Regions from separate parts of the Homo sapiens genome. Here regions 1, 2, 4, 5, 6 and 7 are each linked to region 3. The links are contacts of gene promoters, found by promoter capture Hi-C in blood cells and fetal thymus (Javierre and others, 2016). All regions are on one chromosome and are shown on one strand. The core of a region is centred on a gene start or on the middle of the fragment in contact, and the rest is flanking DNA. Distances in the headings are between cores, read along the strand shown. Region 1 has its middle 16 kb from the start of MYEOV. Region 2 has its middle 32 kb from the start of MYEOV. Region 3 holds the start of LTO1 (LTO1 maturation factor of ABCE1). Region 4 has its middle 54 kb from the start of MYEOV. Region 5 has its middle 26 kb from the start of SMIM38. Region 6 has its middle 3.7 kb from the start of MYEOV. Region 7 has its middle 68 kb from the start of SMIM38.

Region 1 (2,858 bases), core at 37-2,536, 370 kb before region 3:
CTGAACCCAGCTAGATGTGACTGTAAGTCCCAGCTTTCCAAAGGCTCCCACTGCCTTAGGTGCACAGTGTGCCACCTAGCACGGGAAGTGGAGCCCGCCAGGCAGCACCTGGGATACGGGCTGCTCCAGGGATGCCCTGGGAGGAGGGGATGGGGATGCATCCCAGGGAAGAGGTTCCTGGGCTATGACGGGGGTGCAACTCAGCTTCCCCTGGGGTCGGGGAGTGGGAAGACCATTCTGAGAGTGGGAACAGCTCTTGCAAACATGGCCGACATGCAGGTTGGGGCAGATTTGGTGATGAGTGCCTTGGGCCTGATTGGAGGTCCCGTGGGGGTGGGTGGCTGTGGGGCCCCCAGGCAGGGCCTGAAGCAGGCGGAGGGGGTGAGTGGGGGGTTCTGATGGGCCACTGGGAGTGGCCTGAAGTGCACTGGAGCAGGAGGTGGCATTGTCCGGATCCTGTTTGAAAGACCCCTTTTCTGATAGAAGGAGGGCAGATTGCCGGGTGAGTCAGGGGTGGTGGCAGCTATCTGGGCAGAGGCTAGTGTGGGGTGGGAGGCGTGAGGCAGATGTGAGAGCTCAAGGAGGGAGACTACATGCAGCTCAGTGACCTGGGTCTCAATGTGTTCCCAGGTTTGCAGCTGGGGCAACTGGAAGCAGGAGAGGGACCTGGAGAAAGGAAGGCAAAGAGGTGGGTTCCTTTTGGGGCACACTGAGGTTGAGCTGCTTAAGAGACTCCCACGGGTGAGGCAGAAGCCTTGAGCTGCTGGGTTAGCAGCTCCGGGCTCAGGGGAGATCTTGGCCAGAGAAAAATTCTGGGGGTCCTAGTATTCACATAGTGACTTCAGCATGGAGGGGGCAAGGTCCCTCCAGAAGCAGGTGTCTGGAGGAGAGAGGGCTATGGCCTCCACTCCAGGCCCAGCTGGCCCCTAACGGACCCTCCCGCCCGCAGCACCTGCCCTCAGGGCCACAGGGGGCTGCTGGCACCTGGCTCGCTGGGAATGCTCCAGAGGTCCCCTGTCTGCTGCTCATGATTTCACAGACTTGGCAACCAGGACAGGATTGCTATTATTTTTCACCAGAAAACAATGTATGGATTTTGGGCTCTTGCTGATGATTCTAGAGGAAAACAGCTGAGAGGATGCGTGTTTTCAAGGGAACATTCCTCTTTGGACTCGGTCCACTCAGTGTCCTCTTGGAAAACCACAGGGAGGGCTGGAAACAGTCTTAGACTCACATGAGGGGGAAAGGGAGACCAGATCCTTCTCCCAGCTCTGCTTGTGGCTCTCTGTGTGATCCCATGAAGAGAGGAGGAGCAGTGACTCTCACCTGAAATGCTCCCAGCCAAACATGGCCTAAACCAAACGGGATGGCCTCCCTGCCCCTATCCTGGTCCTCCATGGGCTGTCCCCATCTCATGGAATGGGGCCAAGCCTCACACATGGGTGTCACACGTCCTTCTGGGGATTCCTGTCCCTTGTATCTCTTGAATCAGGCTCTTAGATTCTTCTGCTTCATTCCATCATTGTAACCTCCTTCCACGACTCTCAAATCCGTCTCCTTCTCCATATCTCCACTGCCGTCCCTATGTTCCTCTCTGCCTTTGGCTCTGCACGGTACGAGCAGGTGGTCTCTGTCCAGCCAATGTGGGCCCTTTGCACACTGGTGTGAGTGCTTCTAAGTCTCGTTCCAGCTCTCAGTTCGGCCTCTCCCAATCTCCTTGTGTCTTCCCACAGCATGTGGGAAAAGACTAGGAGGACGGCACTGGGGCCACAAAGATAAGTCCATTGTCCCTGCACTCCAGGGATCTGAGCCCCGTGGGCCCCCGGCATGAGTATAATGTGGAAAGGAAGCCTGCGGAAAGGCTCCAAGAGGACGGTACGTTAGAACTGGGTCTCGAGACATGGGTGTCTGGGCCGTAGGGGTGCAGAAACCAGGTCCTGACTTGGCCTGGATGCAAGTGCCAGGGGCTGTTCTGTCTCTGTCAGCTCCAGGACCATTCAGGGGTGGCACAGAGCTTGGGAAGGAATGAATAACAGTCCTGGACATTATGCCAACATTCAGTGAGTGCCTACTGTGTGATCCAGTAGACCCTGGGTGATGTATTAACTTGCCAGTCCTCCCAGTAACCCAGATTAGTCCCAGTCTGCAGACGTGGAGGTGGAAGCTCAGAACAGTTCGGTCACTTGCTTGAGGCCACACAGCGAGGGGGGCAAAGCCAGGCCACCTGCTCCAGAGCCTAGGCATGGATGGGGGTGGAGGGGAGTCCTGAGCCGGGGGGTTCTTTGCTGCCTTTGGGCAGGGTGGGCACAGAGGTCCCAGTCTCGCTCTTGGCCACGCCGAGTGCTCCCTTCCGCTGACTGTGGCTGTAGTACCGACAGGTGTCTCTATTGATGCTACAGCCCCCACCTTTCATTGTCTCTGGGACAAAGGCTCCTCGGGCTCCTAGCTTTGGGACAAGACTGTGGCTGCTCCCTGCCATTGGCTAGGCCTCCCACTGGGGCCTCCTGCCCACTACCTCCCCATGCCTTGTGGCAAGCCTGTGAGTCAGCGTACCCATTTCACAGCAGGGACACAGAAAGCCCCTGAAACCAGGGACTTTCCCAGCACAAGAGTGTCCAAGACTAGAATCCAACTTTGTCTCGGTCCAGCCACCTGCAGAGTGACCCATGCGGATAGTTGTCAGCCCTTGCTGAGCCATCCTTTGTTTCCTGTTCATACTTTCCCATAAGTCACAGAATCCTCCAGGCAACCCAGTGATGTAGGCACTGTCACTATTCCTTCCTACAGACCTGGAAACTGAGTCACAAAAAGCAAGCTGCTTTCCCAGACCCCACTGCTCTGCTAGGTGGAGGCCAAGC
Region 2 (3,231 bases), core at 235-2,734, 410 kb before region 3:
TTGTACTCAGCTCTAAGTAAGATATTCTCCTAGATTCCCTTCTAGCTCACACTTGCTGTTATACTACACTTAGGGTATCAGGAATCATCTGGAACTTGCCAGATTGATGATGGCATTAGGGGTGATTGCTCCCCTGCCTCCTCAACTCCACTACCTTCTTACAGAAACTGGTAGCCTGTCTAGAACTCCTGTGTCTCTTTTAAGACTTAAAGTACCAAATGACAACAGCATTGGCTGGGGCAACTTGAAGAGGTATGAGGGGTATTTGAGGATGCGGCTGGCATTCCTGGACCCCTCCACTTTTGCTGATTATGTCTACAGGCCAGTCTCCTGCCCCATCTCCTGCACCCCCTACAAAGGAGGAGATTGTTCTCTGGTTTCTGGCTGACCTTGAGGGATTATTCACAAACACAGGGATCACATTCACATCTCGCCACCAGCATGGTCTCTGGGACCCAGCTGCAATGTTAAATGAGAGGGCAGCCTGGAACCTGGGAGGATGGGATCTTCGGGTCTGCTTCTGCCTGTGCCTGGAGGGCTGGGCCTCCAGGATGGGTCCTGACTCTGTATCATGGTCCACTCCTCACACCAAATGTGTTCTAGATACTGGGTGGCCCCAATCCCACCAGAAGACGGGGCAGTGGCAATTTTTCCAATGATCTCAGGGTGGAGATTTCTACCTCTGATCTTCGGGGTGGAAATCCATGAGATCACTTTTCTTTTTTTTTCCAGGCCTTCAATGCTGGGCCTCTATCCTGCCCACGTGGTTGGTGGGGCAGATTCGTGGCTCTCCTCAACACCTTCATGGATTAACAAACAGTCTCATGCTCAGTAAATGGAAAGTCCAGTCCAGTCTAAGTCAGAGCTTCAGTCTTTTTTTTTTTTTTTTTTTTTTTTTGAGACGTAGTCACGCACTGTCGCCCAGGCTGGAGTGCAGTGGCACGATCTCGGCTCACTGCAACCTCTGCCCCTCCAGGTTTAAGCAATTCTCTGCCTCAGCCTCTGGAGTAGCTGGGATTACAGGCACGTGCCACCATGCCCAGCTAATTTTTTGTATTTTTAGTAGAGATGGGGTTTCACCATCTTGGCCAGTCTGGTCTTGAACTCCTGACCTCGTGATCCACCTGCCTTAACCTCCCAAAGTGCTGGGATTACAGGCATGAGCCACAGCGCCCGGCCAGAGCTTCAGTCTCTTATCCCATGTACACCCTCTTCCCCACTCCACGGCTCCTGCTAGGGTGGGCAGCTGTCATGGGGAGGGCCTGGGCTGTGGTTTCTGCTGCATTCTTCCTTTTTCCTTCTTCCCCCATGAGGCTTGGAGTTTCTCCTCTGGCGTGTGCCTTTGATGTCTGGCTTTGGGCCTTTCCCCATTGGGAACCCCTAGCATGAGTCTCTGGCCCTGGCCAGGTGCCTTCAGCTAAGGGCCTGTGACTGCTCCCATCCTGGGCTCCTCTCTAGGGAGGGCCTCAGGTGGCTCCTGGTGGTCTCTCACCCTCATAGGAAATGTCCTTTCAAGATGACCCACTCATGGCTTCTTTTCATGGCTGTCCACCATGACTCACTTTCCCCTCCATGCCTGAAGATGGCCACCCCGAGGGCAGCTCTGGCCACCCCTCATTTAGGCAGTGCAGGCAGGGGTCAGCACCAGGCTCTGCATCCTCCAAAACTCTAAAATCTCCTGCAGACCCTCAGAGATGCTTCTGAGGACCCCCTCACCTGGCCTGAGATGCGAGTGAGAAGAACACCTCTCTCTTCACTGTCAACACAAGTAAATAACAAGTATTGGTGAGGATGTGGAGAAACCAGAACCCTTGTACACTGTTGGTGGGAAGGCAAAATGGTACAGCCACATTGGAAAACACTTTGGCAGTTTAGCAGATGGATGATCCATCCATCCATCCATCCATCCATCCATCCCTCTGTCTATCCATTGATCCATCCATCAATCCATCCCTCCATCCATCCATCCATCCACCCATTCATCCGTCTGTCCATCCATCCATCCATCCATCCATCCACCCATCCATCCTTCTGTCTGTCCATCCATCCATCCATCTGTCCATCCATTCATCTGTCCACTCATCTGTCCATCCATCCATCCATCCACCCACCCATCCTTCCACCCATCCATCCTTCCATCTATCTATCTGTCCATTCGTCTGTCCACCTGTCTGTCCATCCGTGCATCCATCCATCCATCCATCCGTCCGTCCATCCATCTGTCCATCCATTCATCTGTCCACCCATCTGTCCATCCACCCACCGTGTCTGTCCATCCATCCATCTGTCCATCCATCCATCCATCCATCCATCCATCCATCCATCCGTCCATCTATCCATCCATCCATCCATCCATCCATCCATCCATCCATCCATCCATCCAACCATCCACCCACCCATCCATCCATCCATCCATCCATCCATCCATCCTTCCATCCATCTGTCTGTCCATTCATCTGTCCATCTATCCATCCATCCATCCATCCATCCATCCATCCATCCATCCATCCATCCATCCACTCACCCATCCATCCACACTCACTGAGCACCTGCTACATCCTGCTCAGAGTCTGGTGGGAAGACAGATGTGTAAACAGACAATGACAACTCAACATCCAGGGCCATGATGGAGAATCATTTCCCACTCTAGGTTCTGAAAGCAGTAGTCCAGTACCCTTTTCCTGCTCTGGGCTGTGTCTCCGTGTAGCTGATATGACTCTGATGATGTCATCCTCTAGACCTCAGTTGCTCTTCTGGAGTTACAAGGAAGCAGAAGAAATTCATTAGGTGCCCCGAACTTGAGGGCAGGGCCCAGACCAGGGCACTCCTGGCCTGGGTAAGCCCTGGCTTCCTCCCTGACCAGCTGTGTGACCTCAAGTCTGTCACTGCCCCCACCCCCGACACCCGTCCCCACAGCCCCCACCATGAAGAGACTGGGCTGGCTGCTTTCCAAGATCACTCTGAATTCTTGTCTGGGAGCTAAGATATTTCTGTCATGTGCGGAGCAGGCTGTCCTGCTTCCCAAGCCCAGGGCATTTTGCACCTCTGTGTTTCCTCCTGCCCTACTGCACCCTCCCACCTGCACTGGGCCATAGCATGTACTCAGCCCTCCCCTAAATGTTGCACTCATGCTCTGAATCCCAGCTCAGAAGTCATCTCCTGGGTGGGTTCCCTCAGTGCCAGCAGAACCCCTGCCCTGTGTCCCAGTCATGGAATATGCCCCTGATGTAG
Region 3 (3,030 bases), core at 519-3,018:
ACTAGAAACACACAAGGAAAATTCAAAGATATTAACTCAAAAGCCTCACCCCCAGAGATTCAGTACGTCTGGAGCAAGGCCCTGGAATCTACTTTTCTTTCTTCCTTTTTTTTTTTTTTTTTTTTGAGACAGGGTCTCTGTTGCCCTGCCTGGAGTGCAGTGGTATGATCACAGCTCACTATAGCCTCAAACTCCTGGGCTCAAGCGATCCTCCAGCTTTGGCCGCTCCAAGTGTTGGGATTACAAGTGAGGGCCACCGCACCTGGCCTGCAATCCACTTTTCTTTTCTTGAGATGGAGTCTCGCTTTGTCGCCCAGGCTGGAGTGCAGTGGTGCGATCTCGGCTCACTGCAAGCTCTGCTTCCCGGGTTCACGCTCTCCTGCCTCAGCCTCCCAAGTAGCTGAGACTACAGGCGCCCACCACCACATCCGGCTAATTTTTTGTATTTTTAGTAGAGACGGGGTTTCACCATGTTAGCTAGGATGGTCTGGATCTCCTGACCTCGTGATCCGCCCGCCTCGGCCTCCCAAAGTGCTGGGATTACAGGCGTCAGCCACCGCATCTGGCCCGGAATCTACTTTTCAAAGTCTCCTAGATAAGTCTGGTTTGCAGCCAGAGTTAGGGGGCCAAAGTTCTGTGAGTGTTCAAGTAGCACTAGCCCAAGTCAACCGCTTCCAAAAAACTGCAACATACACAGGGTTTGACATCACATGGGTAGGGCAACAGAGAGAAATGGCATCAGATCACCACAAAATGTTCTCCGACTGGTACCCGGAGTAGCACTGACCCTGAGGCCCAACAGTGGAACTGCCACTATCTTAACCTGCAGTCACCAAACATGCAAGGAGTGGGCTGCAGCGCCCCATGAAGCAGGGTGCATAGCTCCCCACTTAATAGTTGTGTGACCCTGGAAAGTGACTGTGCCTCCTAGTCTGTAAATTCCGAAGAATAATAGGATCCACTTACTAAGTAGGGCTGAAGTAGATAACCAGGGTGGAACGTTTAGCTCAGTGTCTGACTCACAGCGCGAGCTAAATAAACGTCAGCGCCTGACTGCTAAATGTTCGGCCGCTTTCTTAACTAACATCTATGGACGCGTCCTCTGGGCCGGGCACTGGAAGTCAGCCAGGAGGCAACTCACAGCTCCCCCACTGTCGCAGCACGAGGGGCTCCCCAGGGGCTCTGGAGGGAAAAGGGGTGTGGTCGGGTACATCTATCAGCACATCCATGAATACTGCCGTATGTCCTATGATTAAGGAACCAGAAAAAAAGGCAGCTCCCAGATGGCAAAGGTCTGTCCTCCCAGAGGACGAGGCGGCCTCGGAGGAGGGGAACCACCAGGCTGAGCAGATGTTTGGGGCAGCCCTGACAGGGAAGGCGGGTCTGGAAGAGCAGCTGGGCACGTGCCCCGCCGGAGCGGGCCAGGAGAAGAGGACCAGAGCATCAGGCCCACACTTGTCCCTGCGTCCACGGCCACCAGGCGCTCCCCAATGCGCACGCCCAAGGGACGCCAGGCTCCAGCAGCCGCCCTGGGCCGCAGCCGGCGGCGAAGCCGCTGGGAGACGACCAGACAGGGCGGGGTGCGGGCCCGGCCTCACCACCCACCTCTCATCCGCCATCACGATGGCATCGAATATGTCCTGACTGCCAGCCATAGCGGCAAGCAGCCCGCCCTTGGCCCCCGGGTTTCTGCAGCCCCGCGGTGCCGTAGCAGACCCGGCAGCTTCAGGCACAAATGCTCCGCTTGGGAGGAGACGAGACCCACTTCCGGAAGCGGCGGCGCGGGGCAGGCCGGGTAAGAACGGCACGCGGGAGGGCCCAAAGCAGCCTGTACATGGCGCATGCGCGGCTGCAGCGGTGGGCGGGGCCGGCCTCGACTGAAGCCCCGCCCTGGGGTCCTTTCGCCCTGCCCAGCTCCAGCAAAGGGCCTGTCTGTCCGCGCTGGGAGCGTCCATTGGCCGCGCGCGTGGAGAGCCGACCTGTATTTTACCACTGCAGATAGAACCGAATTTCCCAAAGTGGCTCCGAAAGAACCAAGGAAGAAATGGGAAGTCATCAGCTGGCGCGGTGGCTCACGCCTGTCATCCCAGCACTTTGGGAGGCCGAGGCGCGCGGATCACCTGAGTTCGGGAGTTCGAGACCAGCCTGGCCAACATGGTGAAACCTCGTCTTTACTGAAAATACAAAAATTAGCCGGGCATGGTGGCAGGCGCCTGTAATCCCAGCTACTCGGGAGGCTGAGGCAGGAGAATCACTGGAAGCTGGGAGGCGGAGGTTGCAGTGAGCCGAGATCGCACCACTGCACTCCAGACTGGCGACAGAGCCAGACTCCGTCAAAAAAAAAAAAAAAAAGGGAAAAGAAATGGGAAGTCATCAAAGAACCGACGCCTCAGGAGGCTCCAGGCCAGGAGGCTCTGCATGTGGGATTTTGGGCAGAAATTTGTCGGTTTTAGTTCTCATATTTGTCATTTCCATGAGATGTGCTTTCTGAACACGATTTTTAAAAAGGGATTTCAAAGTCTAAGCGACAACGGAACTCAGATGAGAAACACCAGAAGCATTCCTAATAAAGTCAGTAGTAAAACCTCACGTGACCACTGAACATCTTTCTACCAGCCCTGGCCAATGCAGTAAAACATGAAGCAAGAAGTGGAAATACCAAAAAAAAAAAAAAAAAAAAAAAAAGGCAGAAATACTACTATTTGCAGATATGATGGCCCACGTGGAAAACCCAAATAGTCACCTAAGACGTTCTCAGAATCCATAATCGCAGCAAGTAGCTATGTGTATGATGAATAGGGAAAAAAACACTTTCTGTTATTCCAACAATAATTGGTAGTAACCTGAGCAGGGGTGGTGATGGGAAAATCGCCTTATGATAGTCATAATACATTTCTTAGAAATAAGAATTTCTAACAATTTGAGCAGGACCCATATAAGGAAAACTACAGCTCTACCATGATTGAGGATTGGGGAACTGAACAAGTGCAGTACCAAAGAAAATTCCATGAGATCTGGTAAAATGTGTCA
Region 4 (3,122 bases), core at 257-2,756, 440 kb before region 3:
GTTAGTGAGAGAGAAGTGTTAAAATCTTTGCCTAAAATTGTGGATTTTTACATTTCTTTTTTCAGTTTTGTCTGTTTTTGCTTAGTGTGTTTTGAAACACTCTTATTCATTGCGTACACATTTAGAATGGTTATATCTTGGTTAAGTGACTTTAGCATTATGAAACATCCCTCTTTATATCTTTTTCCGTCCTTTTACTTTAACCTATGTGTATATGTGTATTTAAAGTGGATTTCTTGTATACAGCACATAGCTGGGTGTTGATCTTTTATTCAGCCTGACAACATCCATGCAGAATTTTGATGGTGACTTAAACTTTCCTCTAAGTCAAAATTGCCACAATATGTTCTGTGTCACATTTTTTCAGGACTTCAGAGGATATGTCTCTCTAGAGGATGTGTCATCATTGCAAATCCGTCCTCTGCAGTCAGCAGGGATGCTTCCATTTTATAGATGAGGGTATTGAGCTTCCACGAGGGGAGGTGAAGTACTTGAGTCCACTCCCACGGCCACCAGAGGTTGAAGCACGACTCTCTGGCTCCTGGCCAGCCTTCCTTTTCCCATCACAGCTGCAGCTGTGGGGAAGGAGGATGATTCTGAACTGACCCTGTGGGTTGAGATGGAGACCTCCAGCTTCCTGGGAAGAGTTCTTCCTTCTTTGCAAAAATAAATGAATTGATATAGGCCATTTTGTATTCAAATTAGATTGGTCAGGGGCTATTTAAGCAACCACATCAGAAGGCTCATTTTCCCTTTTGACATTAAAGTGTCTTTTCCAGAAACTGTAGGAGGTGGGGTTTCCCTAGAATGAGTTGACAGCTTGTACCTATTGTTAAAAAAAGCAAAAAAAAGAAAAGCCTTGTACACCTCTTCCCACATCTTCAATGGTAACAGAATGAGCATAATCGAAAGAGGTTTGTGATGATTATTTTTTTTTTAAGAGAAAACACTCACAGCCTTCTGCCTGGTGTAAGGCTGAAATAGGGCAAAAGGGGAAACTGAGCATGAGCAGGGCATAGAATATCAAAGGCAGTAAGTCCTTTTGGCCACATCTGGACTCTTCTCCCATCCCACAGAAAACCTCCCCAGCCAGTCTGGAGGTGGGTGGATGGCGAGGGTCCCCTTTCATAGGTCACTTGATCCGCTCCTTGCCCACCCCTCCTGCCCACCCTCTGCCGGCTTAGGTTACCCCTGGAAACCACCCACATTTTTCATCTGTCCAGAGAAATCAGGAGGGGACGAACACCTCTGTTGGGTTTTCCAATCAAACACTGGGGGAACGGAGCATTTTAATCCTCAAGAATCTCCCCACCAGCGAAGTGAACCCCTGAGAGGCACTGTGGATGTGCAAAGGCAAGCCCTGTCCCCGATGGCCCAGCACTAAGTGGTAGAGATGACATGGTCATGACAACACCGAGGCTCAGGCATGAGAGGTGTGTCAGCCCCATCCTGGGACACTGCGACAGTGGGGACAAGGAAGACTGCTGGTCAGAAACAGGGTTCAGAGGCAGGCCCGACTGACATTGACAAAGCTCCTTTCATGTGCTGCTATAGGAGGCAGGTGGGCTCTGGGATCATTTGGCAGCTTGTACCTATTGTTAAAAGAGGAAAACAGGCCAGGCGCAGTGGCTTACGCCTGTAATCCCAGCACTTTGGGAGGCCCGAGGCAGGCGGATCACGAGGTCAGGAGATCGAGACCATCCTGGCCAACATGGTAAAACCCTGTCTCTACTAAAAATACAAAAATTAGCTGGGCGTGGTGACGTGTGTCTGTAATCCCAGCTACTCGGGAGGCTGAGGCAGGAGAATCGGTTGAGCCCGGGAGGTGGAGGTTGCAGTGAGCCGAGATCGCGCCACTGCACTCCAGCCTGGTGACAGAGTAGGACTCCTTCTCAAAAAAAAAAAAAAGAAAAAAAAAAAAAGGAAAACAAAATATGGTAAATATCTTGTCACCTCTTCGATGTAGGATGGCATGAGATGACATAAGCCCAGTTCTTCCAAATGTCCCCATTTTACAGCAGAGGAAACTGAGGGTCAGGATCTCTTTGGGCACGGTTGCAAAGAAAGGCCTCCTAGAGAAAGGGGCCTGTGTGCAAGCCCAGGGGGATGGGGGGTGAGGCTTAGAGCATTTCCCGTGGGTGGAAACAGTGAACAGGCCTCTGGAATCAAGCTAGCCCATAACCTGCCCGGGGCACAGCAAGTGGTATGGCGAGAACAGACCAAGTTTTGGGTGCCGAATAAGGATGAGGTAAACCAGGGGCAGAGTTTTGGAATCTCAGCCCAAAGGAGTGGCCTGAGTCCAAGGCTGGGGGAGCATGCACCTGCTGGTTGCTGACACAGGTGATCCTGGCTGTGTTTTTGTTAAGACTGGCTTTGTCGTAGCTCCATGGATCTGGGCACAATCCAGAGATGTTGTCTTCTTGCACACTCATTTTACAGATGAAGAAATCAAGGCTTGGGGTAGTAGAGAACTTTCCAGAAGTACAGGGCAAGTTTGTGTCTAAGCAAAGCTGAGCCCTCTGCCCCCTTGTGGTGATCTCCTCAGCCCCGTTCTCATCCTTCCAGGGCAATAGTCTTTCCTTGGGAGTAAAGTTCAACCTCAGTTTGGCCCAGACATTTGGCTTTTCCCAGTGGTGGCAGAATTTGTGGGATCAGTGTGTGTGTGTGGTGGGGGCAGGGCAGGGGGCTGAGTTAGGGAGCTTAGGGATGGGCAGCTTCTCCCACATCCATAAAATTGGGGCGTTTACCAATTCCCACAGCTGGTATAAATACCCTCCCTGGTGCTTAGCAAAGGCTGCTGGGAGTGGGGTTGCCCCTGCCCGACTCAGATTCTCTTAAAGACCCAGGAGAAACACTTGCATTGCAATGAGGTCTCTATGTCCTCAACCATTGGACTGAGCACCTCCGCATGGGAATGTCTGGAATTGCAGGTTTTGAAGGCCTAAATTAGGGCTGTGAATGATTTTCTTCAAAATTCAGGGGCCTGTGGGCATGGCCACAACCCTCACCTGGATGCCTGTCCTCTGTTCACCCTCTGTTCTCTTTCCAGCAGAACATTCAGCCCAGCCTTGGGTGTCAGGCATGTGCCTGCCTCTCTGACCTCATCTGGTGGCCAGGCTGTG
Region 5 (3,281 bases), core at 11-2,510, 490 kb before region 3:
CGTGGGCACTTGCAGGGCACGTGGCACCTCAGAGAGAGCCCATCCCGACAACTCACTTGCACTTAGTGTCCTTGGATACTGATTCTGTGAGGACCGTCCTCTCTCCTGGAGACCGACCACAGAAGAGAATGCTAACATATTGAGTGCCCTACAGACCAACTTGTCTAATCCTTATCATCACCGTGGCCAGCATCACCTCCAGGGTGTAAGTGAAGGCATCAAGGTGGCTTTCCGAGGTCCAGGCGGCCGCAGTGTGTGGAGATGGGCCTACCTGGTGCTACCCTTCTGGTTTCCTTCCCTCCGTGTCTGGACCTGTGGGAAGTGTCTCTCCCTTGGATAGCAGGAGAGGTGGAAAAGACCCCAGGGATGTCTGTCCTGTTCTCTTCTCAGTGCGCCCGCATAATTGGTCTGCACTTTCCCTGCCAGGCCTCAAATGGGAGAATCAGATCAACAACCGAGAATCCTCTAGCTCGGGCGAGACCCCGTGGCTGCAGCCGTACACACTAGCCGTTCACAAGGCCATCACACTCTAGGTCTTGGTTCAGAGGCTACTTCTTTCAAAGGGGATGCATTCATAAGGGCCCCTTATCTGTGCCCTCCCTGGCTGTGCTCCTTCCCCTTTTCCTTCCTCTAACAGCCACTGTGAAAGCCCAACCACAGGCTCTGGAGCAGATCCACACGGGACTCAAGAAGGAAGCTTGTCTTTCTCTTGCTGGTGCAGTTTTCACCTAGCACCTTTCCCAGAACTCCCCACCCCAACTCCACACAGAGGGGCACCGAGTCTCATGACCAGCAGCATGAATGCACACAAGGCTGGAGGGAAGGCCGGGGGATCTATTTCCAGTGTTGTCACTGAGCCGGTTTTAAAAATGAGGGGGAGATGAAGAGGCTTGTTCTCACTGTGGCCGCAATAACGCTGCATAACACACCATTCTCAAGCTCAGAGGCATGCAGCAATCAGAATTTATGTCCTGTGTGGGTCTGTTTGGCTGAAGTGGCTCAGCTCCAAGGGACAGGTCTGTGGGTTGGTTGGGGTTTGGCTGATCTAGGCTGGGCTTGGTTGGGTTTGGCTCTGGGCCACGGCATGGTCCATGTGTCCCCTCTTCCTGAGACCAGCAGGCTCCCTGGGTGTGATCTTCTCACAGCACTGGTTGAAGTGCAGGGGAGCAAGCCCAGTCCCAAACCCTCTTTCTTTTTTTTCTTTTTTGTTTTTTTTTGAGATGGAGTCTTTCTCTGTCACCCAGGCTGGAGTACAGAGGGGCAATCTTGGCTTACTGCAACCTCTGCCTCCTGAATTTAAGCAATCCATCTGCCTCAGCCTCCTGAGTAACTGGGATTACAGGCACCCACCACCATGCCTGGCTAATTTTTGTATTTTTAGTAGAGTCAGCGTTTCCCCCCATGTTGGCCAGGCTGGTCTCGAGCTCCTGACCTCAAGTGATCCACTGGCCTCGGCCTCCCAAAGTGCTGGGATTACAGGCATGAGCCACCACACCCGGCCACAAAACCCTCTTTCCAACCTTATTTGCCCCTATCAGCAAACTCACCTGGTTCAAGATGAGTCCCATGGCCAAGCCATGCCTGTGGGGAAACTGTAAAGTCATGTGGCAAAGAGTATGGATAAGGGGCAGCCTATAGGATAGGCGCCATGTTGCCATCTGGGGCTTTCCAATGGCTTCGAGCTGAACTCTGCCCTGAGCTGAACTCTGCCCTGATTGAAGTGTGCTTGTTGGTGGAGAGAGGATTGGGTCTATGGATGCTGGAAATGGTGGATTTGGGTTCAAGGCCTGGTCTGGTCACTTCCAAGCTGTGGGAGCCTGGGCGAAGCTTGTCTGAGCCACAGTTTCCCTGTGTGTAAAACGAGGGGCAATGAGTCTGTACCTAAGCTCATGCTGAGAATTGAGCGAGATGGACAGCCCGAAGCAGAGTGCCTGCCCCAAGGGATTCCTGCAAATCATGGGTGCCACAGTGTCCCTAAGGAAAGTGTGTTTTTGTTGGTGAAGTTCTCAGGACATTAGTACCCAGGCAGAGTCGGGGCATCTGGCCTCAAAGTACAAGAGAAGCAAGGAGAAATCACACAGGTAAAGCAGGGCTTACTGGCTGGGCACGGTGGCTCACACCTGTAGTCTCAGCACTTTGGGAGGCCGAGGTGGGCAGATCACAAGGTTAAGAGATCGAGACCATCCTGGCCAACATGGTGAAACCCTGTCTCTACTAAAAATACAAAAATTAGCTGGGTGTGGTGGCCAGCGCCTGTAATCCTAGCTACTCAGGAGGCTGAGGGAGGAGAATCGCTTCAATCCGGTAAGTGGAGGTTGCAGTGAGCCGAGATCACACTACTGCACTTCAGCCTGGGCGATAGAGTGAGATTCCGTCTCAAAAAACAAAAAACAAAAGAAGGGTTACCTTGTGGAAGTTTCAGAACCAAGGGGCCTTTTGAGACCCCTAGTGAGAGACGTCCCAGCTGCTCCAAAACGGATGAGGACAGTCAAATGCCCCATTTCTCCACACCCACCCAGCCCCCTCAGCCCCGGTCTGGCCAAGGCACCTCCTATACAGCCTTGTCAGCATCACACCAGGCTGCCGAAGGAAAGCCTGCTGTGACGCCAGCACTTCCATGGTGTCTAACGCTGGGGTCTCAGGTGTGACTTGGAGGTGGCTGGGATAGCTGACAGGTTCACCCATATCTGTGATCCAGCGTTTCTTTGTCTTTATGGGAAGGCCCCAGTCCCCTTTTGAATCTGATGAAAGCAATTGAACTTTCATCCTCTCACAAAACATCTTTTGGGTATAACTTCAAGCAGCTCGTGTACTCCCTGAAGCCCATTTTCCGGGTGACATGAAGACCTCCCATCTAGGAATGAGTCAGGGGGTCCAGGAGGGCCCTTGCCAGCCAAGGCTGGGAATTTGAGCGTGACAATGACTAGTGTCAGTAATGAAGATAAATCAATGATCAAAGCATGATCAGTGAGTCCACCCTGACCAAGAATGAGTCGATAAATTTATAAATGGCAGGGAAAAGAAAGGCCCCCTCCTTTTATTTATTTATTTATTTATTTATTTTTTGTTGAGACATAGTCTCACTCTGTCGCCCAGGCTGGAGTGCAGTGGCGTGATCTCAGCTCATTGCAACCTCCATCTCCTGGATTCAAGCGATTCTCCTGCCTCAGTCTCCCGAGTAGCTGGGATTACATGTGTGCGCCACCACGCCCAGCTAATTTTTGTATTTATTTATTTATTTATTTATTTATTTATTTATTTATTTATTAGTAGAGATGGGG
Region 6 (3,079 bases), core at 501-3,000, 380 kb before region 3:
CCCTGCCAGCCATTGTCTCTGAGTCTCTCTCCCAGAATGCATGGAAACAGGGATTTGGTTCCTTTTTGTTTCTGACAGTGCTGGCACAGGGCCAGGTGTCCAGTTCACCCTCAGTCCCGACTCACAGAAGCAAGACCCTCTTGGTTTCTAAAATGCACCTTTTACAATTGTTGAAGGAATGCCTTCTTCAACCCCTCTGCAAGGCTCTGGAGGACCTTGGTAGGTGGCTCTACCAGTGTGAATGGACAGGGTCCCTCTCTGCCCCAGGAGCAGCAGGGGCCTCCAGCCAGCCTTCTGTGTTGCTCCTTGCGGGAGAAATTCCTACTTGGGGTGCCAGCCAGCAAGGCAGAGAGGCAGGTACCTATTTCAGTGCTATAGGGCTTGGCCTGGACACCCTCTGTCATGTGTGTGATAATCATAACACAATGTCGAGATCAGCATCTGATCACCACCCAGGGCTTCTTAAACACGTACTCTGTGCCAGGCACTGAGCTACGCACTTTTTAATGAATCACTTAGTTCACTCTCTCACTCACAACTTGCTGGCATCCATCTTGCTTTACTGTTGGGGAACGGGAGGCCCAGAGAGGTGGTGCAAGGCAGTGATTTGAACCAAGGCCTCCCTCTTGCTCTCCACAGCTCATGCTCTCACTGTGGCACCTGCTAATTCTGCAGCACCCAAGCAGGTCTGGGTGGAGAGGCAACCGGCTCCCCTGCCCCCATCCCAGGAGGAACCCAAGCCTCAGGAACCTCCTGAGGAAAGGCCCCACTGGCCATGACCTTCAAAGATCCCCCGGAGACCACCTGCAGGCATACCCGTATTAGTTATCTATCGGCATAACAAATCGCCACCAACTCAATAGCTTACCACAACCCCAGTTGCAAGTTCAAAGTGCTGCAGGTCAGACATCCAGGCACTGCTTTGTGGGTCTTCTGCTCGTGGTCTCACGTGGTGAAAATCAGGGTGTCAGGCAGACTGGGCTCCTTCTGGGGGATCTGGGGAGGAGTCTGCATCCACGCTTATCCGGGTTGTTGGCCGAATGCAGTTGCTTGCAGGTGCAGCTGTAGGATTGACGTCCCTGTTTCCTGCTGACTGTTGGCTGGGGCCACTCTCAGCTCCCTTGGCTGCCCACATTCCTTGCCATGTGGTCCCCTTCATTTTCCAAATCAGCAGTGGTTCTCATCGTCCAATTCCCGACTTCCACTTTGAGGACCAGATGGAGAAAACACCCTACTTGTAAAAGGCTCATGTGATGAGGTCAGGCCCATTAGGTTAGTGTCCCTTTCTCAAAATGAACAAGTCAACAGTGCCATCAAACACAATCCTATCATAGAGTGTTCATCATATTCACAGGGGCAGGGACTATGTAGGGCATGTATACCAGAGGTGTGGGTCTGGGGACCATCATAGAATTCTGCCTCCCACAATTTTAAAAATTAATTCAGCATCAGTTCTTACTTTTCCCAAGAAGATCGCACCATATTGGGCTGGGGTGGGGCATGGAGAGGGCCACTGGCTTCACATAGCCTTGGTTCAGAATCCTGGCTCTGATCTCCAACGGCTTATGGCCTTGAAGAGGCAGCATGACTGTTCTGGGCCTCAGTTTACTCATCTGTAAAATGGAGTGAGGGCCACTGGCAGGGCAGCTGGAAGGTTAAATGGGATCATGCAGGTAGAAATTTTGGTAGAACCTGACCCTTGGGGCCTGGGCAATAGATGATGCAGCTGTGCATGGTTTTTTAGAACAACCCAGGCTTCTGTTTTGTTTGAAGTAGGGTGGGACCAATGAAAAGCATGTTTTTAGGCTCAAACACATCTGAGTCCACATCAGGAATCTTTCAGAGTCCAACTGTGGCCAGCGAGGCCCTGAGTACTGGACAGGAGACATGCCTTGTGCTGACCAGTGCCCACATGCTGGTGGCTGCAACCTGGGCTGGCTGCTCACCAGTTGCTCACAGGCAGAAGGGTCAGGGCCAAGCCTGATCCCTCAGAGCAGGAGAGTTGGGCATGGAGTTGTGGCAGGTGGAACATCATATGCCCACGCCATTGGAGCTGTGGTCCCTCCTTGGCAGTGCTCTGAGGGAAACTGGCATCCCTGTGCCCCTCCCTTTAGAGTCTTTGGCTTCCTCATTGTGTCTTACTGCGAAAGAGCAGTCAGACTGATATGGATGATGGGAGGAGCTGCCCTTTGGCTCAGAGGAGGAGTGTCAGAGAAGGGGTCACAAAGACAGCTCTGTAGGCTGAGCCAAAAGCAGTATAGGGTAATGTTAGGAGCAGGTCTTGGTGCAACTGCCTGGGTGCCCCTAGGTTCCACTGCTAACTTGCTATGTGACTGAGCCACTGTACACTTTAGTTTCCTCCTCTGTAAAATGGGGATAACAGTAGTCCTAGCCATAAAGTTGTCATGAGGATTAAATGAAATAGTGTGGGAAAACTACTGACATGTGGTGCATGTTCAGTACAAGTTATCCTCACCATTATCATCATCACCACCATCATCATCATCATCACCAGCATCATCATCATTACCGTCATCACCATTACCATCATCACCATCATCATCATTACCATCATCACCATCATCACCATCACCATCACCATCATTATCACCACCATCATCACCATCACCATCATCATCACCACCATCATCACCATCATCACCAACATTATCATCAGACCACCATCATCACCATCATTACCACCACCATCATCATCATTATCATCTTCACCATCATGATCACCATCATCATAACCACCATCATCACCATCATCACCACCACCATCATCACCATTATCATCCTCACCATGTTCACCATCATCATCATCACTATCACCACCACCACCATCATCACCATTATCATCCTCACCATCATCACCACCATCATCACCACTTTCATCACCATCACCGTCATCACCATCATTATCACCACCATCATCACCATCACCGTCATCACCATCATCACCACCATCATCATCACCATTATCATCCTTACCATCATCACCATCACCATCACCACCATCATCACCATTATCATCACCATCATCAACGCCATCATTATCACCATCATCACTATCATC
Region 7 (3,256 bases), core at 485-2,984, 450 kb before region 3:
GCTGGCCTTGAACTCCTGGGCTCAAGCCATCTGCCCGCCTCAGTCTCCCAAAGTGCTGGGATTACAAGTGTGAGCCACAACGTGCCTGGCCCTTGGGCTGTCATTACTAAAACGTGTATAGCATTCCAGTACGCATCCTGGGTGGACACATACATGCACTGTTCTCTAGGACTGAAAATGCTGGCCTGAGCACTGTAGTTGTTTAACTTTAGTAGATCCCACCACTCAGTTTGCCAAAATGGCCTATTTCCTTTCCTGCTTCCAATGACAAGGCAGGAAGGTTCTGGTTGTTCCACATCCTCGCCTACATTTGGTATGGTCGTTTTTTTTTTTTAATTTTAGCCATTCTGTTGGGTGTGCTATAATTATGGTTTTAACTGCATTTCCCTGATGACTAACGATATTGAGCACCTTCTCATATTCCCAGTGGCTATCTAAACATCTTTTGTGAACTGCCTGTTCAAGCCTTTCCCTCACTTTAAAAACATTTGGGGCTGGGTGCGGTGGCTCATGCCTGTAATCCCAGCACTTTGGGAGGCCAAGGCAGGTGGATCACCTGAGGTCGGGAGTTTGAGACCAGCCTGACCAACATGGAGAAAACCCGTTTCTACTAAAAATACAAAAATTAGCCAGGCGTAGTGGCACATGCCTGTAATCCCAGCTACTTGGGAGGCTGAGGCAGAAGAACCACTTGAACCAGGGAGGCGGAGGTTGCAGTGAGCCGAGATGGCGCCATTGCACTCCAGCCTGGACGACAAGAGTGAAACTCCATCTCAAACAACAACAACAACAACAACAAAACAGCAACAACACATTCGGTTTTGTCTGTCTTTTTCTAACTCATCTTTAGCAACTGTTTGTATACTCTGATGACAAGTCTTTGGTTGGATCTATGTATCATGAATATCTTCTTTCACTCTGTGACTTGCTTTTTCACTCTGTCTTTAGACGGAGTGTCTTTTGACAGCTTTTCTCTTTTTGATTTCTTAAACTTTTTGGCTTTTTAAAAAAATTAAGCTTTTTATTTTGAGATAATTGTCAATTCACATGCAGTTGTGAGAAATAATACAAAGATATCCCGTGTACTCTTTCATCAGTCTCCCCCCAATGGTAACGTCTTTCAAAACTATAGTACAACCTCGCAACCAGGCTACTGACATTGATCCAGTGAACTAACTGAACGTTTCCATCACCTCGAGGATTCCTCATGTTGCATTTTTATACACACACCTACTCTCCTCGTGTCCCCCACCCTCCTTAACCTTTGGCAACCACTAATCTGTTCTCCATCTCCATAAATTTGTCATTCCAACAATGTTATATAAGTGGATTAATAAATTTGTTTTTTCCCTCAGCATAATTCTTTGGAGATTCATCCAGGTTGTTGTGTCTGTCAATAGGTTCTTCCTTTTATTGCCAAGTAATCTTAGTTTGTTTAATAACTCACTTGTTAAGAACATTTGGATTGCTCTCCAGTTTCTTGCTATTACAATAAGGCAGCTATAAACATTTATGTCCAAGTTTTTGTGTGAACATAAGTCTTCATTTATTTAGGAGTAACTGCCCAGGAATTCAATTGTTGGGTCACATGGTTCTTGCTATATGAAACTGCCAAACTTTTTCAGAGTGGCTGTACCATTTTACAGTCTCACCAGCAATGTAGGAGTGACCCAGTTTCTTCACATCCTCACCAGCACTTGATACCATTATTTTTTATTTTAGCCATTCTGATAGGTGTCTAGTGATACCTCATTGTAGTTTGAATGTGTAGTTGCCTAATGGTTAATGATGTCGAACATCTTTTTATGTACATATTTGCATCTAGGTATCTTCTTCAGGGAAATGTCTCTTTATATCTTCTGCTCATGTTCTAATTGGGTTGTTTGCTCTTTCACTGTTGAGTTTTAAGGGTTCTTTCTATAGCCTGGATACTTCTCTTTTGTAGGATTTGTGGATTGCAAATATTTTCTCCCAGTCTATACCTTGTCTTTCCATCCTCTTAGCAGGGTCTTTGGCAGAGCAGAATTTTTATTTGGATTAAGTCCAGTTTATCAAGTTTTCCTTTTATGGATCGGCTCTGAGAGTCAAGTCTAAGGACTCTTTGTCTACTTCTAGATGCTGAAGATTTTTTCCTCTGTTTTTTTCTAAAAGTATTATAGTTTCACATGTACATAATTCATTATGAGTTACTTTTTGTAAAAGGTGTGAAATTTAGGTTGGAGTTCATTTTATTGCAAATGGATATCCAGTTGCTTCAGCACCATTTTCTATAAATGCTATTTTTCTCCATCGAATTGATTTTATACCTTTGTTAAAAATTAGTGGGGTGTATTCTTGTGAATCTATTTCTGGGTTCTCTGTACTGTTCCATTGTTCTGTATGTTTATTTGTCTGCCAATACCATGAACTTTTGATTATTGTATTATTATTTGATTATATAAGCCTATATATTAAGCTTAAAATCAAGTAGACTAAATGCTCTCACTTTATTCTTATTTTTCAAAATTGTTTTAGCTATTCTAAAACCTTTTCTTTTCTATATACATTTTAGAATAATCTTGTGTATATCTACAAAAAAATCTTACTGAAACTTTGACAGGAATTGCTGTATATCAACCATACCTAAACACTGATTTAGGGAGGATTGTCATCTTTACTATGTTGGGTCTTCTAATCTATGAACATGGTATGTCTCTTCATTTATTTAGATTTTCTTTGATGTCTTTCATAGTGGTTGTGTAGTTTTCAGCATGCAAGTTCTGTATATCAAAAAAATTTACATCTAGTTATTTAATTTTTGAGTGATTTCAATAGCATTGTATTTTTAATTTTTATGTTCACATGTTTACTACTAATACATAGAAATACAATCAGTTTTGTATATTTATCTTGTCTGTCACCTTGCTGAACTAACTTATTAGTTTCTGGGAGGTATTGTTTATGTAGATTCATTGGGATTTTCCACAGCGATAATCATGTTATCTATTTTATTTCTCCTTTCTCATATGTATGGCTTTTGAATTCATGTTAATTATTCTGCAAAGAATTGGTACAATTGTCCAGTAAAATCATCCAGGCTTGGAGATTTCTGAAATGATGTCTTTAATTTCCTTAATAGTTATAAGGCTATGCAAATTATCTATTTCATATTGGGTGAGTTGTGGTTAAGAAGTTGATTTATCTAAGTTGTCAAATTTATGTGTGTAGAGTGGCTCATAGTATTCTATTTTATCTTTTTGATGTCTGCAGGGTCTGT

Evidence for each region. The method cuts DNA at HindIII sites, captures the fragments that hold promoters and counts their contacts. A CHiCAGO score of 5 or more calls a contact.
Region 1: a contact is called between a fragment that was not itself captured here and the fragment with the promoter of LTO1 in region 3, in 3 of 17 cell types (neutrophils, endothelial precursors and naive CD4 T cells). The highest score is 6.3, in neutrophils.
Region 2: a fragment that was not itself captured here is called in contact with the fragment with the promoter of LTO1 in region 3 in 2 of 17 cell types (M1 macrophages and endothelial precursors); the score reaches 5.2 in M1 macrophages.
Region 4: a fragment that was not itself captured here is called in contact with the fragment with the promoter of LTO1 in region 3 in 2 of 17 cell types (M1 macrophages and endothelial precursors); the score reaches 5.1 in M1 macrophages.
Region 5: a fragment that was not itself captured here is called in contact with the fragment with the promoter of LTO1 in region 3 in 1 of 17 cell types (megakaryocytes); the score reaches 5.9 in megakaryocytes.
Region 6: a contact is called between a fragment that was not itself captured here and the fragment with the promoter of LTO1 in region 3, in 11 of 17 cell types (neutrophils, endothelial precursors, monocytes and 8 more). The highest score is 9.5, in neutrophils.
Region 7: a fragment that was not itself captured here is called in contact with the fragment with the promoter of LTO1 in region 3 in 3 of 17 cell types (endothelial precursors, M0 macrophages and M1 macrophages); the score reaches 8.8 in endothelial precursors.

The regions. Positions count from the first base shown.
Region 1 is chr11:69,308,778-69,311,635 of GRCh38, forward strand. No RefSeq gene overlaps it. Among named protein-coding and RNA genes, the nearest start is that of MYEOV, 16 kb to the left of the region's middle. RefSeq lists enhancers at 2,101-2,600, 2,442-2,671. The HindIII fragment of the contact is 4,555 bases long and covers 1-2,858 here.
Region 2 is chr11:69,260,897-69,264,127 of GRCh38, forward strand. No RefSeq gene overlaps it. Among named protein-coding and RNA genes, the nearest start is that of MYEOV, 32 kb to the right of the region's middle. The HindIII fragment of the contact is 9,090 bases long and covers 1-3,231 here.
Region 3 is chr11:69,673,585-69,676,614 of GRCh38, forward strand. It overlaps LTO1 (LTO1 maturation factor of ABCE1), which reads right to left and starts at 1,769. Exons shown (of 5, transcript NM_153451.3): 1 at 1,606-1,769. The coding sequence starts at 1,655. RefSeq lists a silencer at 1,351-1,440 and enhancers at 1,561-2,061, 1,931-2,130. The HindIII fragment of the contact is 5,284 bases long and covers 1-3,030 here.
Region 4 is chr11:69,238,360-69,241,481 of GRCh38, forward strand. No RefSeq gene overlaps it. Among named protein-coding and RNA genes, the nearest start is that of MYEOV, 54 kb to the right of the region's middle. The HindIII fragment of the contact is 8,114 bases long and covers 1-3,122 here.
Region 5 is chr11:69,179,833-69,183,113 of GRCh38, forward strand. No RefSeq gene overlaps it. Among named protein-coding and RNA genes, the nearest start is that of SMIM38, 26 kb to the left of the region's middle. The HindIII fragment of the contact is 1,130 bases long and covers 696-1,825 here.
Region 6 is chr11:69,288,951-69,292,029 of GRCh38, forward strand. No RefSeq gene overlaps it. Among named protein-coding and RNA genes, the nearest start is that of MYEOV, 3.7 kb to the right of the region's middle. The HindIII fragment of the contact is 3,965 bases long and covers 1-3,079 here.
Region 7 is chr11:69,221,816-69,225,071 of GRCh38, forward strand. No RefSeq gene overlaps it. Among named protein-coding and RNA genes, the nearest start is that of SMIM38, 68 kb to the left of the region's middle. The HindIII fragment of the contact is 1,438 bases long and covers 1,016-2,453 here.